Regions from separate parts of the Homo sapiens genome. Here region 2 is linked to region 1. Evidence: promoter capture Hi-C in 16 types of primary human blood cells and fetal thymus (Javierre and others, 2016). All regions are on one chromosome and are shown on one strand. The core of a region is centred on a gene start or on the middle of the fragment in contact, and the rest is flanking DNA. Distances in the headings are between cores, read along the strand shown.

Evidence for each region. Contacts are between HindIII fragments. The CHiCAGO score rates a contact against its expected background, and 5 or more counts as called.
Region 2: the fragment with the promoter of SLX4 here is called in contact with a fragment that was not itself captured in region 1 in 1 of 17 cell types (fetal thymus); the score reaches 5.5 in fetal thymus.

The regions. Positions count from the first base shown.
Region 1 is chr16:3,125,915-3,132,022 of GRCh38, reverse strand. ZNF213-AS1 (ZNF213 antisense RNA 1) reads left to right here. Exons shown (of 6, transcript NR_110900.1): 3 at 1-4; 4 at 2,370-2,562; 5 at 2,713-2,775; 6 at 6,057-6,108. Among named protein-coding and RNA genes, the nearest start is that of ZNF213-AS1, 5.9 kb to the left of the region's middle. RefSeq lists silencers at 2,281-2,575, 2,327-2,584 and enhancers at 2,424-2,643, 3,781-4,331. The HindIII fragment of the contact is 2,090 bases long and covers 206-2,295 here.
Region 2 is chr16:3,606,501-3,613,150 of GRCh38, reverse strand. SLX4 (SLX4 structure-specific endonuclease subunit) reads left to right here and starts at 1,545. Exons shown (of 15, transcript NM_032444.4): 1 at 1,545-1,591; 2 at 3,585-4,721; 3 at 6,453-6,650. The coding sequence starts at 4,187. It also overlaps a transcript of DNASE1 not described here. RefSeq lists an enhancer at 1,228-1,297 and a silencer at 1,338-1,687. The HindIII fragment of the contact is 2,900 bases long and covers 1,158-4,057 here.

The sequences.
Region 1 (6,108 bases), core at 1-2,500:
CAAGGTGAGGACAGTGGAACTGAAGGCCGCTGGTTACCTCTCCTGCCCTCCGCTGGCCACAGTGGAGAAGACAGCCCCTCCCTCCTGCTCTGACCTGACAGTGTTCATCCATCGCCCTGTATTAGCGAAGAACAACATCAAGCTGGCTAGCAAGGAACTGTATACAGGGTCCAGCTGGGTATCACACTGGATCTCACCCAAAGCTTAGATGTGATCCAGCTCAGTATCACAAAGCAGAACGAAAAGGATGTGTTTGGGCTGAGAGGCCATACATTGGTAAGTGGCACATGAACTGTATTTTCTATTGAGCATTGCTGGTATATGGCAAATTTGCATAAAATTATATTGAAATTGACTACCGGATTGCACTTTCTTGTTCCTTCTGATAATTTTTCACGTGTTCTTTTTCTTTCTTACTTTAGATGGAGTCTTGCTCTGTCGCCCAGGCTGGAGTCCAGTGGCGCGATCTCGGTTCACTGCAAGCTCTGCCTCCCGAGTTCATGCCATTCTCCTGCCTCAGCCTCCTGAGTAGCTGGGACTACAGGCACCTGCCACCACGGCTGGCTAATTTTTTTTTTTTTTTTTTTGAAATGGAGTCTTGCTCTGTTGCCCAGGCTGGAGTGCAGTGGCGCGATCTCAGCTCACTGCAAACTCCGCCTCCCGAGTTCATGCCATTCTCTTGCCTCAGCCTCCCGAGTAGCTGGGACTACAGGAGCCCACCACCATGCCCGGCTAATTTTTTGTATTTTTAGTAGAGACGGGGTTTCACCATGTTAGCCAGCATGGTCTCTATCTCCTGACCTCGTGATCCACCTGCCTCGGCCTCTTTTTTATATTTTTAGTAGAGATTTCACTGTGTTAACCAGGATGGCCTCGCTCTCCTGACCTCATGATCTGCCCGCTTCAGCCTCCCAAAGTGCTGGGATTACAGGCGTGAGCCACCGCGCCCGGTTATTTGTTTATTTATTTATTTATTTTTTGAGACCGAGTCTTGCTCTGTAGCCCAGGCTGGAGTGCAGTGGCGCCATCTTGGCTCACTGCAACCTCCACCTCCCACATTGAAGCAGTTCTCCTGCCTCAGCCTCCCAAGTAACTGGGATTACAGGAGCACACCACCACATCTGGCTAATTTTTTGTATTTTTAGTAGAGATGGGGTTTCACCATGTTCGCTAGGCTGGTCTGAAACTCCTGACCTCATGATCCACCCGCCTTGGCCTCCCAAAGTGCTGGGATTACAGGCAATTCTGCTGCCTCAGCCTCCCAAGTAGCTGTGATTACAGGTGTGTGCCACCATGCCCGGCTAATTTTTGTATTTTTAGTAGAGACGAGGTTTTGCCATGTTGCCCAAGCTGGTCTCAAACTCCTGACCTCAAGTGATCTACCCGCCTTGGTCTCCTAAAGTGTTAAGATTACAGGCATGAGCCATCGGGACCGGCCCACTGTTTTTTCTCGCTAGAAAATACAGTCTAAAGTGGCCAGGTGCGGTGGCTCACGCCTGTAACCATCCTGGCTAACACGGTGAAACCCCAGCTCTACTAAAAATACAAAAAATAAGCCGGACGTGGTGGCAGGCACCTTGTCCCAGCTACTCGGCAGGCTGAGGCAGGAGAATGGCGTGAACCCAGGATGCGGAGGTTGCAGTGAGCTGAGAACACGCCACTGCACTCCAGTCTGGATGACAGAGCAATACTCCGTCTCACAAAAAAGAAAATATAGTCTATAAATAATGAAGAAAGTAAAGTGAACCTGGGAGGTGGAGGTTATAGTGAGCTGAGATCATGGCACTGCACTTCAGCCTGGGCAGCAGCAAGACTCCGTCTCAAAAAAAAAAAAAAAAAAGAAATATGCGAGCTGCTAAGCTAGGCAGTTCTGGCTCAAGATCTCTCATGATACTGCAGACACCACACCAACGAGGACCCCAGTCCTCTGGCACTGGAGGACCCACTTAGAAGGCGGATGACTCACGTGGCTCTTGGCAGGAGACCTCAGTTCCTCCCCACATAGGCCTCCCTATAGGACTGCTTGAGTGTCCCGTTTACCAAATGATCTAAATATGTTCCGGTTTTGATTGGCTGCTCTGCAATGTGGGCCGTTATCTAGCTGATTCGGTGGGGCCTGAAGTGTCAGTTCCTGCCGCAGGGATGTTATATGGAACCTTTGGCAGGCCGCTACAGACGAATCATAATATAAACCTGTGCTAGTTATTGATTACGTCCCAGCTCCTGCGTTGCCTGCTCTGTGAAATGGTTCTGGCCCTTTAGTTTTTCCTTTACCAGCTGGCATGATCTTAAGCTTTGTCAGTAGAGGGCGCTGGAGAGACATTGCAGGAGACGAGTTTCCCTTCCTGCTTCTGGTGTGTTCTCTCTAGGCTCCGGCATGACGGGTGACTTCTTCCGAGTCTGGCTTCTGCAGCACACAGGGCTTCGCCAGCACCCAGCTCCTGCAGCATGGGCAGCTCCTGTGACAGCAGGCGCCCGCAGCCTGCAAAGCGTCTCCAGTGCCGCCGCCTCAGTGAACCTCAACCAGCGGCACCTAGCAGCTTTCTCTGCCACCCTCTTCAGGTAGTTCTGTAGCAGCGCGTTTCTCATGAGACACTTCCCTGTGAGCAGCTTTTTCTACCCTTGAGGATGGATTTCCAGCAAATTCTGCCCATGTGGTACCACAGCCACTTCTCTGCCATTCAGTGAAACTGCCGTTGTGCCCTCTTCAAGGTCTGGATCTAAGCCCAGGGACCAGGAAACCTCTTGCTTGAGTGCTGGAACTCAGGCCAGAAGGTATGGCTGCTGCTATGTGCTGTGACCAGAGAATCAGAGTTCTCTTTACTTCTTACCAGCCAACCTCTTGAAAATGCCTTTTTGTTTTTTGTTTTTTTTTGAGACGGAGTCTCGCTCTGTTGCCCAGGCAGTGCAGTGGCTCACTGCAACCTCCGCCTCCTGAGTTCAAGTGATTCTCCTGCCTCAGCCTCACAAGTAGGTGGGATTACAGGCATGTGCCACCACGCCCAGCTAATTTTGTATTTTTAGTAGTGACGGGGTTTCTCCATGTTGGTCAGGTTGGTCTCAAACTCTCGACCTCAGGTGATCCACCTGTCTCAGCCTCCCAAAGTGCTGGGATTACAGACGTTAGCCAGAGCGCCCAGTCTAAGCCCTTTATAGCTTAATTCTATATATTAAATTTTCCCAGTTCAAATTACTGTGTGCTTCCCTTCTCCTGATTGGACCTTGCTTGATACAAAATTAGTACAAGGAGTGGTCTCAAGAGATAGATGCACAAAGAAGGGATATGGGGACGGATTTGGGTATTTGGGCTTGAGTGCAGACTGAGCTCCTTGACAATGAGAAATAGGATATGTATTAGGGTTCTCCAGAAACAGAATAACAGAATCTATATATACATGTGTATGTGTGTGTATATATATATATATAGAGAGAGAGAGAGAGAGCTTTTATGTGTGTGTATATGTATATATATAAACACACACACACTAAGGTATTGCCTCACATGATTATGGCAGTCGAGAAGCCCCACAATCTGCTATCTGCAAGCTGGAGACCCAAGGTCAGTGGTGCAGCATTTTTTTTTCAGATGGGGTCTCCCTCTGTTGCCCAGGCTGGACTGCAGTGGCACAATCACAGCTCACTGCAGCCTTGACTTCCCCAGCTCAAGCAAGCTTCCCATCTCAGCCTCCTGAACAGCTGGGACTACAGGTGGACACCACCATACCCAGCTAATTTGTTCTATATATATATTTTTATATAGAGATGGCCTCTCCCTGTATGTCCTAGGCTGATCTCGAACTCCCCTGGGCTCAAGCTATCCGCCTGCCTCCGCCTCCTAACAGTTTTGTAATTTTAAGGCCTGAGAGCCAAAGGCCAATGGTGTAGATTCCAATTCAAGACTCAAGGCCTGAGAATCAGGAGCACAAGACCAGGAGATCAATGTCCCAGTACCCAGGTCTCAAGTACTCAGGCACAGAGAGAATTCAGCCTTCCTCTGCCTTGCTGTTCTGTTTAATTCCATACGGATGGATGATGCCCACCCGTGGTGAGGGCCGTCTGCTTTACTCACTCAGCCAATTCAAACGTTAATCTCTTCTTGAGAAGCCCTCACAGACACACCCAGAAAGAATGTTTAAGCAGCTGTCTGGGCATGCCTTGGCCCAGTATAGTTTAACATGAAATTAACCATCACAGGGTGCTGGTTATCCACGGCTTGCAGCGATATCACAATTAATCAAGCAGCCACCTGCAGGTGATGATGAAGTGCCAATGAAAGCATGTACCTGGTGGGAACAAGTAGCTGCTGCACTCAGCCATTATGGTGTCCACAGATGTATAATGATGATTATACAACCATGGTATGGGATACATTATTTTTAGTGCACTTGAGCATTTACAGTGAGAAAATGACAAGCCCAAGTCCCTTAGCTCAGTTCAAGTCATGGTCTGAGAACCTGAGAACTTCTGTGATAGCTTAGAAGCAGCTCTTATAGCCACAATACTGTCACTGAAAATCAAACACAAAACTTAACTGTAGAGTCGCTGAATAATAATGACAGCTAAATTCCCAGGCCCAACAAATCTCACGTGAAGGTTACTGCGCTGATTGGTAAAGAAGGTGATCCTGGCCAGGCACAGTGGTGCAGTCCTGTAATCCCAGTTACTCGGGAGGCTGAGGCAGGAGAATCGCTTGAACCTGGGAGGTGAGGTTGCAGGGGGCCGAGATGGCGCCACTGCACTTCCAGACTGGGCGACAGAGCGAGACTCTATCAAAAAAACAAAACAAAACGAAAAAACAGAAGGTGATCCTGAAATTCAAAGTGGGGATATATGTTTGGACCCAGATGAAATTGACAGTCTTGATTCCTTAGGTCACTCTGAGCCTCCTTTACCAGTAGAAGTAGTTTGCCCTCAGTATCTGAATAGAATAGCCTTTCTCTGCTTGAAAACCTTAGGATAACCTTCCCAGGGGCAGAAGACCTAAAAGGGGATGTCCATTCTCCTGAAAACCCACCACAATTGCGCTCCATTGCCAGTAAACTCATAACAACTAGGGTCAAATCTCAACACAATCTATATATGTGTGTGTGTGGAGAGAGAGGCTGCACAAGCGTGTGCAAGAGACAGAGAGAGAGGGGAAAGATACACGTTATGACCCAGGAGGAAATAGCTTATACACTAAAATAATTCACTTTGCTGATATAAACTAGCAGAAACCTGGGGGATAGATGCAAGAGTAGATTCTAAGGATAGCATACCAAAGTGGACAGAATATAAAAAGAGATGAGATTAGACCGGGTGCAGTAGCTCATGCCTGTAGTCCCAGCACTTTAGGAGGCAGAGGCTGGAGGATCATCACTTGAGCCCAGGAGTTTGTTATCAGTTTGGGCAACATAGTTGAAACATAAAATACAAAAATTAGCGGGGTGTTGTGGTGAGCACCTATAGTCCCAGCTACTCAGAAAGCTGAGGTGGGAGGGTCGCTTGAGCCTGAGAGGTCAAGGCTGCAGTGAACTGTGATCATGCCACTGCACTTCAGCCTGCGTGACAGAACAAGACTCTGTCACACACACACACAAAATGAGAAATCAAATTCAATGATATAGGTGCATTTAGTAGACTTCAAATTTAATGTTAGCGTGTGTGGCTGTTGGTGGCTTTTTAGCAGTTTACTCCATTGGTTGGCTGAAATTTGGACTCATTGGTGGCCTTCAGTTAACAAGGTTGAGATGGCTGAAGTGGCATGACAGGAAAGAAGGAAACCAAAGGCTCCTTTTCCTTAGGGAGATGGAAATGTTGAGTGGCCTTATCATGCATGACCTGTGTACCCACCCCATCCCCAGCTATCTTTTACCAGTAGACACTGGCTTCACTAAGTCTCTGAGAAAGGCATTAATGACAGGATCACCTGAATCCTTGAAGAGCTCTGTGGTTGCTCTGTGAGATCTGTGTTCATCTCCATGACTAGCCTAGGGCTTTGTTAGTTGAGAACATAAAAATTGCTGTCTTAAGTTACTGAGGTGCAGGCCATTCATTGGGTGCTGCCTTTACACCAGGCAGGAAGCCCGCCTGACCCCATGTCTCAGGCTGCCAGAGGAGCGTGCGATG
Region 2 (6,650 bases), core at 296-2,795, 480 kb before region 1:
GGGGTCGGGGGAATTGCGGAGTGACTACGAATGGGTACGGCAGGTTCGATTTGGGGTTTTAAAACGTTCTGGAATTAGCGACGATGGCTGCAAATCCTGTGAACGTACTGGAAACCACTGAATGTACACTTCTAGTGTGCATTTTATGATACTGTATCTTTTAAAAAACATATTGTCTGCCCTGCAAACTGATTCCTTTACACCTCTCCTGTGTTCATTATTTCAGTGACTGGAGGCACACTACTCTCAGATGTTAAGGCCAGAAACCGGCAAATCGTTAACAACTGCGTCTTGACTATGCTCCATATTTCTCCATTCTTTTCGCTCCACCTCCTAATTCGGGCCGCTCTCACTTTTCATCTAGATTATGTAATAGCCTCCTAATGGGTGTCCTTGCCTCATCTGTTCTCACTGTAATTAGGCCTTTAAAAACAAAATCTTACGCCGGGCGTGGTGGCTCACGCCTGTAATCTCAGCGCTTTGGGAGGCCGAGGCGGGAGGATCTCTTGCGGCCAGGGCTCGAGACCAGCCTGGGCAACATAGTGAGACTCCCCCCCCCGCCCCCACCGCCCGTCTCTACTTAAAAAAAAAAAAAAAAAAAGCCGTGAGCGGTGGCTCACGCCTGTAATCCCACCACTTTGGGAGGCCGAGGCGGGCGGATCACCTGAGGTCAGGAGTTGGAGACCAGCCTGGGCAACAGAGTGAAACCTAGTCTCTACTAAAAACACAAAAATTAGCTGGGCGTGGTGACTGGCGCCTGTAATCCCAGCTACTTGGGAAGGTGAGGCACAAGAACCGCTCGAACCCGGGAGACAGAGGTTGCAGTGAGCCGAGATCGCGCCACTGCACCCCAGCCTGGGCAACAAGAGCAAAACCCCGTCTCAAAAAACAAACAACAAAAAACCTTCAATGGCTCCCGACGACCCCAAGTTGAAGCTCAAACCCTTAATACGATGTGTAAAGTCCCTCAAATACCAAGCCATGGCAAACCTCTGCTACCTTTCCCCCAGGCCCTGGCTGGCTTCACCCTAGCCCTGCGGAAGAGCTCGGGCATCCCCTCCAGGCACCTGAAGCGCGGCAGAATCCCCTCTTCACGTAGCTAACCCTCCCCGACCTCCAGGCCTCGACTCTCACGCCACCCCACCTGAGAGGAAGCTTCTCGGGCCCCCAGGCCAGATTTGGTGCCTCTCCCGGTCCCCCTCACACCGTCCACTCTCCGCTCCACAGGCAGGTATGCCCAGAGGGGGCCGCCGTTGTATCCGCGAACATTTCCTGAGCCAGCTGGGGAGGAACCAGACTTTATCTCACAGCTGCCACAGTGCCTTAAACTCGCCCTAACTCTTTCTCAAAAACTAACAGACTCCACCTGAAGCAAGCGCCGCTTCCGCCTCGCCCCGCCTCCTGCCGACCGGAAGCGCTGGCCGCCGCGGGCCCGCGCCCGGCGCCGCAGAGGAAGACCGGAAGCGAGGCTGCCGCACCACCGCGCGCGCCCGCTCTGCGCCTGCGCGCAGGCAATGCTCCGCGGGGGCGCGGGCGGCGCATGCGCAGGCGCGCGAGTCTCCGTTAAGAAGGTGCCGCGGCGGCGCCGGAGGTAGGAGGAGCCGGGCTGTGGGGCTGGGAGTCGGCACCCGGGAGGCGGAGGTCCTGTCATTTCGGGCCGTTCTCTCTTTCCTAAGGGAGAAGAGCCTTTCTCGCCCGTCTCCCTCGCTGGCTCCGTGGCCTCGGCAGGCCCGCAGCCCCGACGGAGAGGCAGGAGCCGCACTCGGGTGGAGAGGGGCCGGGGCCCGCCTGGAGGGAGGAGGGTGGCGGATCCGGATCCCCACGGTGGTCTCCGTCCGGGCCAGTCCGGGGATCGGGGTTCTCCGTCTGACTTTAGAGCCGTTAGAGTCTTTGGCAGCCCTTTTCCCAGACGGGGAACCCCTCAGCCCCTTTCCGTAGGTCGCCGGGTTGGGGGAAGCGGGAGGGTCCGCCCCTTACCGATCCATTCATTCATCCCTCGCCTGCTGTGAGCCGTGGGCTGCGGTAGGTACGAAGCAAGGAGGCACAAGTCCCCTTCCCTCTGGAAACCTGCAGGCTTGCAGGATCCGTTATGTCATTCAGTAAATCTTGACTGGGCACCTATAGGAGGAGATAGACTGTTGTGAGGTTCATATCAACAGAGATGCGGAGATCAACACAGTTGTGGAGGTGGAATTTGTTCCAGCCGCTCCCCGCATCCAACAGGATAAAATTCACTTTGCCTAGCCTGACCTTCCAGGCCCTTGTGAGCCAATCCTTTCCTCTCCCCGCAGCGTTTTCTCCTACACCTTTCTCTCTACTCCCATTATACCGAACTCTTTGCAATTCATGAATTCAACAAGTAGTTGTGGAGCACTTATTTCAAGTCAGGCACCAGATCAGCCAAAGAGGTTGCAAAGTAATAGATGGATCTCTACCCTCCTGAAGTGTTGAGCTTAATGGGGGACAGATAATAAGCCGATGAATAAAAACACAAGAGCGGATAGTTTCGAACCACACTTCCTGGGTTTGATCCCAGCCCTGCCACTGTGAAAGCTGTTCCTGAACTGGCTTTAGGCCAGTTCCTCATTCTGCTTGCGCGTGTTTCCTTGCCGTAAAGACAGGATGACAAGAGATTCCACCATATAGGCTTCTTGTAAGGATTAAACGAGTTTGACTTGGAAAGCAATTGGAACAGTGCTTGGCACACAGTAAGCATTCGATAGATATTACCTGTTTCATATGATGATAACCTATGACAGATGCCATTGTGAAAACAGTGGGCGATGATAGGGATTAACGGGGATGGAGACGGTCCATAAAGGATTAGAGGACACTTCTCTAAGGGGAAGACACAGAAGAGAATGCGCCAGCCATACAAAGTAGATTCTAGGTAGGAGTATTTTCAGCTCTGGAAAACAAAATGATTAATTAGATTCCTTGGACAGTGGAGATTGCATTATTGTATTTGAAAGGAATAACTTTCTGCCATTGGGTCATTCAGTTTTGATTTTTGAACCCCACTTAGCTGTGTGCCAAAGTAAACAACCATGCTCACGAGGCCCAGCCTTTGCACACAGGCGACATTCCAGTCATCCAGGTTTGGAGAGCCTTGCTGGGTTGAGAAGATAAGTAAAAGTGACCTTTTCTCTCCTGAGTGTTCATGAGAATATAATGTCTCTTTCTGTCTCTTATGTTGCAGTATTTACAGAAAGAGCCTCTTTAACAGCCAGGGGTCTTAGATCAGTGTAGGAGATAGTTTTCCTAGATTTGGGGATCATCCTGTTTCTGTGGTGACTGCCTTTTATGGGGTTTGCTCCCTAAATTTCAGTTAAGAAAACACTCTCCCAAGATGCACATATTTTAATACCTGTGGAAGAACAACATGCTTTGACAGGTTTCTAGGTCCTTTTGTTGTGATGTCTGATAGGACGGTTAGACCATGTTAACCAGGCTGGACTGAGTATTTGACAGTATTGTTACTCCGAAGACTTTTCCCTCACCCCACATGCCCTTGTCCCTCCCTGGAAGAACTGGCATAAAATGACAATGTCTGATTACACTTACATGCTTTTGGTTTTCCACAGATGTGTAATTAAGTGAACCATATATGTTTCATCATCATGGAGATCTTGGAGAATTATCTGAGCACCAGGTTCATATGTATTCGATCTCAGAGGCATCTATTGGACAACAAAACACTCTTTCAGTTGTGAACTTTATTTATTTATTATTATTATTTTTTGAGACAGAGTTTTGCTCTTGTTGCCCAGGTTAGAGTGCAGTGGCACGATCTCGGCTCACTGCAATCTCCGCCTCCCAGGTTCAAGCGATTCTCTTGCCTCTGCCTCCCGAGTAGCTGGGATTACAGGCATCTGCTACCACGCCTGGCCAATTTTTTGTATTTTCAGTTGAAACGAGGTTTCACCATATTGGCCAGGCTGGTCTCGAACTTCTGACCTCAGGTGATCCACCCCCCGCCTCGTCCTCCAAAAGAGCTGGGATTACAAGTGTGAGCCACCGCGCCCGGCCCAGTTGTGGACTTTAACAGAGGGAAGCTTTAAACATGTTTAACCACAGGCCCAATTTGAACAAAGATACTTCAATCATTATAGAGAGGAAAACAGTACTTTTTGTTCAATTGTGCAAACTCTCCAAGTATCTAATGGAGAAGTAGAGAAGAACCCTAATGAAACTGAGTGTGAATGAGGCTCAGCTAGGCTTCTACTTGGGTTCACTTTCTCATCTGTCTGCCTGTCCTGGGATTGACCCTCGCTCCTCTGAAGACCAGCCTGAAAGCCTTAAAACTGGTCAGATGATGGATGAGTCTGATGAGGACTTTAAAGAACTCTGCGCTAGCTTTTTCCAAAGGGTGAAAAAACATGGAATCAAGGAAGTGTCAGGAGAAAGGAAGACACAAAAGGCTGCCTCAAACGGCACTCAGATAAGAAGCAAATTGAAAAGGACCAAACAAACTGCTACCAAGACCAAAACCCTTCAAGGCCCTGCAGAGAAGAAACCTCCGTCTGGCAGCCAGGCCCCTAGGACTAAAAAGCAAAGGGTAACCAAATGGCAAGCAAGTGAACCGGCCCACTCTGTGAATGGGGAGGGGGGTGTGCTTGCCTCTGCTCCAGATCCACCTGTGCTCCGGGAAACAGCACAAAACACCCAGACGGGTAACCAGCAAGAACCATCGCCAAACCTTTCCAGAGAGAAAACCAGAGGTAATTTGTACTCTTTTAAACCAGGGGCTGGAAAACTTCCTGGAAAGGGCCAGATCGTAAATATTTTGGCTTTGTAGGCCACACAGACTCTGTCACAACTACTCAACTCTGCTGTCATAGTGAGAAAGCAGGCGTGGACAATATGTAAATGAACAGGCATGGCCATATGCCAGTAAAACTTTATTTACAAAAACAGGCAGCCAGCCACATGACCGTAGTTTGCTAACTTTTGGTTTGTTTTTATTTTTTAATTTTTAAGCTTAAAAAAAAATTTAGAGCTGGAGGTCTCACTATGTTGCCCAGGCTGGTCTTGAACTCCTGGACTCAAGCAATCCTCGTGCCTCAGCCTCTCAGAGTGCTGGGATTACAGGCGTAAGCCACTGCGCCCGGCTGACTCCTGGTTTAAACAACAGTCAAGAAAAACATAACCCGTGTGAATTTTTCACATGATTGTGTTTGGAGTCCTCTGCTCTTTCAGAATTTCCTATGAAATTCTGTTATATGATTGACATGAGTTACACAAACAACACAATAATGCTGCTTCTCTTGTTTTCTTGAATTTATTCCAAAGTGGGTAAGTTGGACTGGGCCAGCCAATTTGGATAGGCTGCTGAGAGGGCCGCATGAGGACTCTGTGTGGGCTCAAGTCCCAGGAGAATCTTCAGGTTCTTTCTTTCTCTCTCTGAAGACCTTTTAATCTTTTCCTTTGTTATTGTTATTGATTTATTTACTTACTTAGTTTTTAGAGACAGGATCTTGGTCTCTCACCCAGGCTGGAGTGCAGTGGTGCTATCATAGCTTACTGCAGCCTTGACCTCCCAGGTTCAAGCAGTCCTCCCTGCCTCAGCCTCCCGAGTAGCTGGGACCACAGGCACCCACCACCGTGCCTGGATAATTTTTTAACTGTTTAAAGCAGTTTTCTTGCCCTGCTGCCCTTGGTATACTGAGCTATATGCTTACTACACATTCTTCATGCAAAACTGAAAACTACCCTTGCATATATAATACACCATGGGCTCTCTGAGCTCCTGAGTTCTGTTTCTAAATTTCCTTTGCCCTCACTTCCTGATCTTAATAACCTCTCAGTAGAGTGGTGGTAGAGTCTCAGGTCGCATAGACTACTGGAAGGCATCAGCAGTGTTGCCTCACCAACTTTACTGGTCTCTCGTGCTCTTTGCCAGTCGGATGAAATCTATGCATGGTTCCCCCAAAACACGTATCCATGCGCGTATCTGCAAAACTGGCACACAACTTCATGGGGTTCATGGATCCCCACTGAAGATCATCCGTGGATCCCAAGTTAAAGAAGAACTGATCTAGGACATAAACCTTTGTCATTAATATTTCTTTAATAATAGCTTTATTGGGGTATAATTGATATTCCATAAAATTCACCATTTAAAAGGGTATGGTTCAGTGGTTTTTAGTATATTCACAGACTTGTCCAACCACCACCACTACCTAACGTTAGAACAGTTTTATCATCCTAAAAATAAACCCCATGCTCATTAGCAGTCACATCCCATTCCCCTCCTGTTATTGATATTTATGTCTATATTGCCATAAACAAAGAGGTTACCAACAAGCAACCAGTCCTCTTCACATTTGTGAGTCAAACCTAAACTAGTTGATAAAGGACTCTTGAAACTTGCGTCTAACCTGTATCTGGTAGAAAAGTCTTTTATTTCTCCAGCTACAACAGATGGTTGTGAATATTTTCCTCCTTGCCAGAGAATGTGCCCAACAGCGACTCCCAGCCTCCTCCTTCCTGTTTGACAACAGCAGTGCCAAGTCCCTCCAAACCCCGCACAGCACAATTGGTCCTACAGCGAATGCAGCAGTTCAAGAGAGCAGACCCCGAGCGTTTGAGACACGCTTCAGAAGAGTGCTCCCTCGAGGCTGCGCGGGAAGAAAATGTCCCAAAGGATC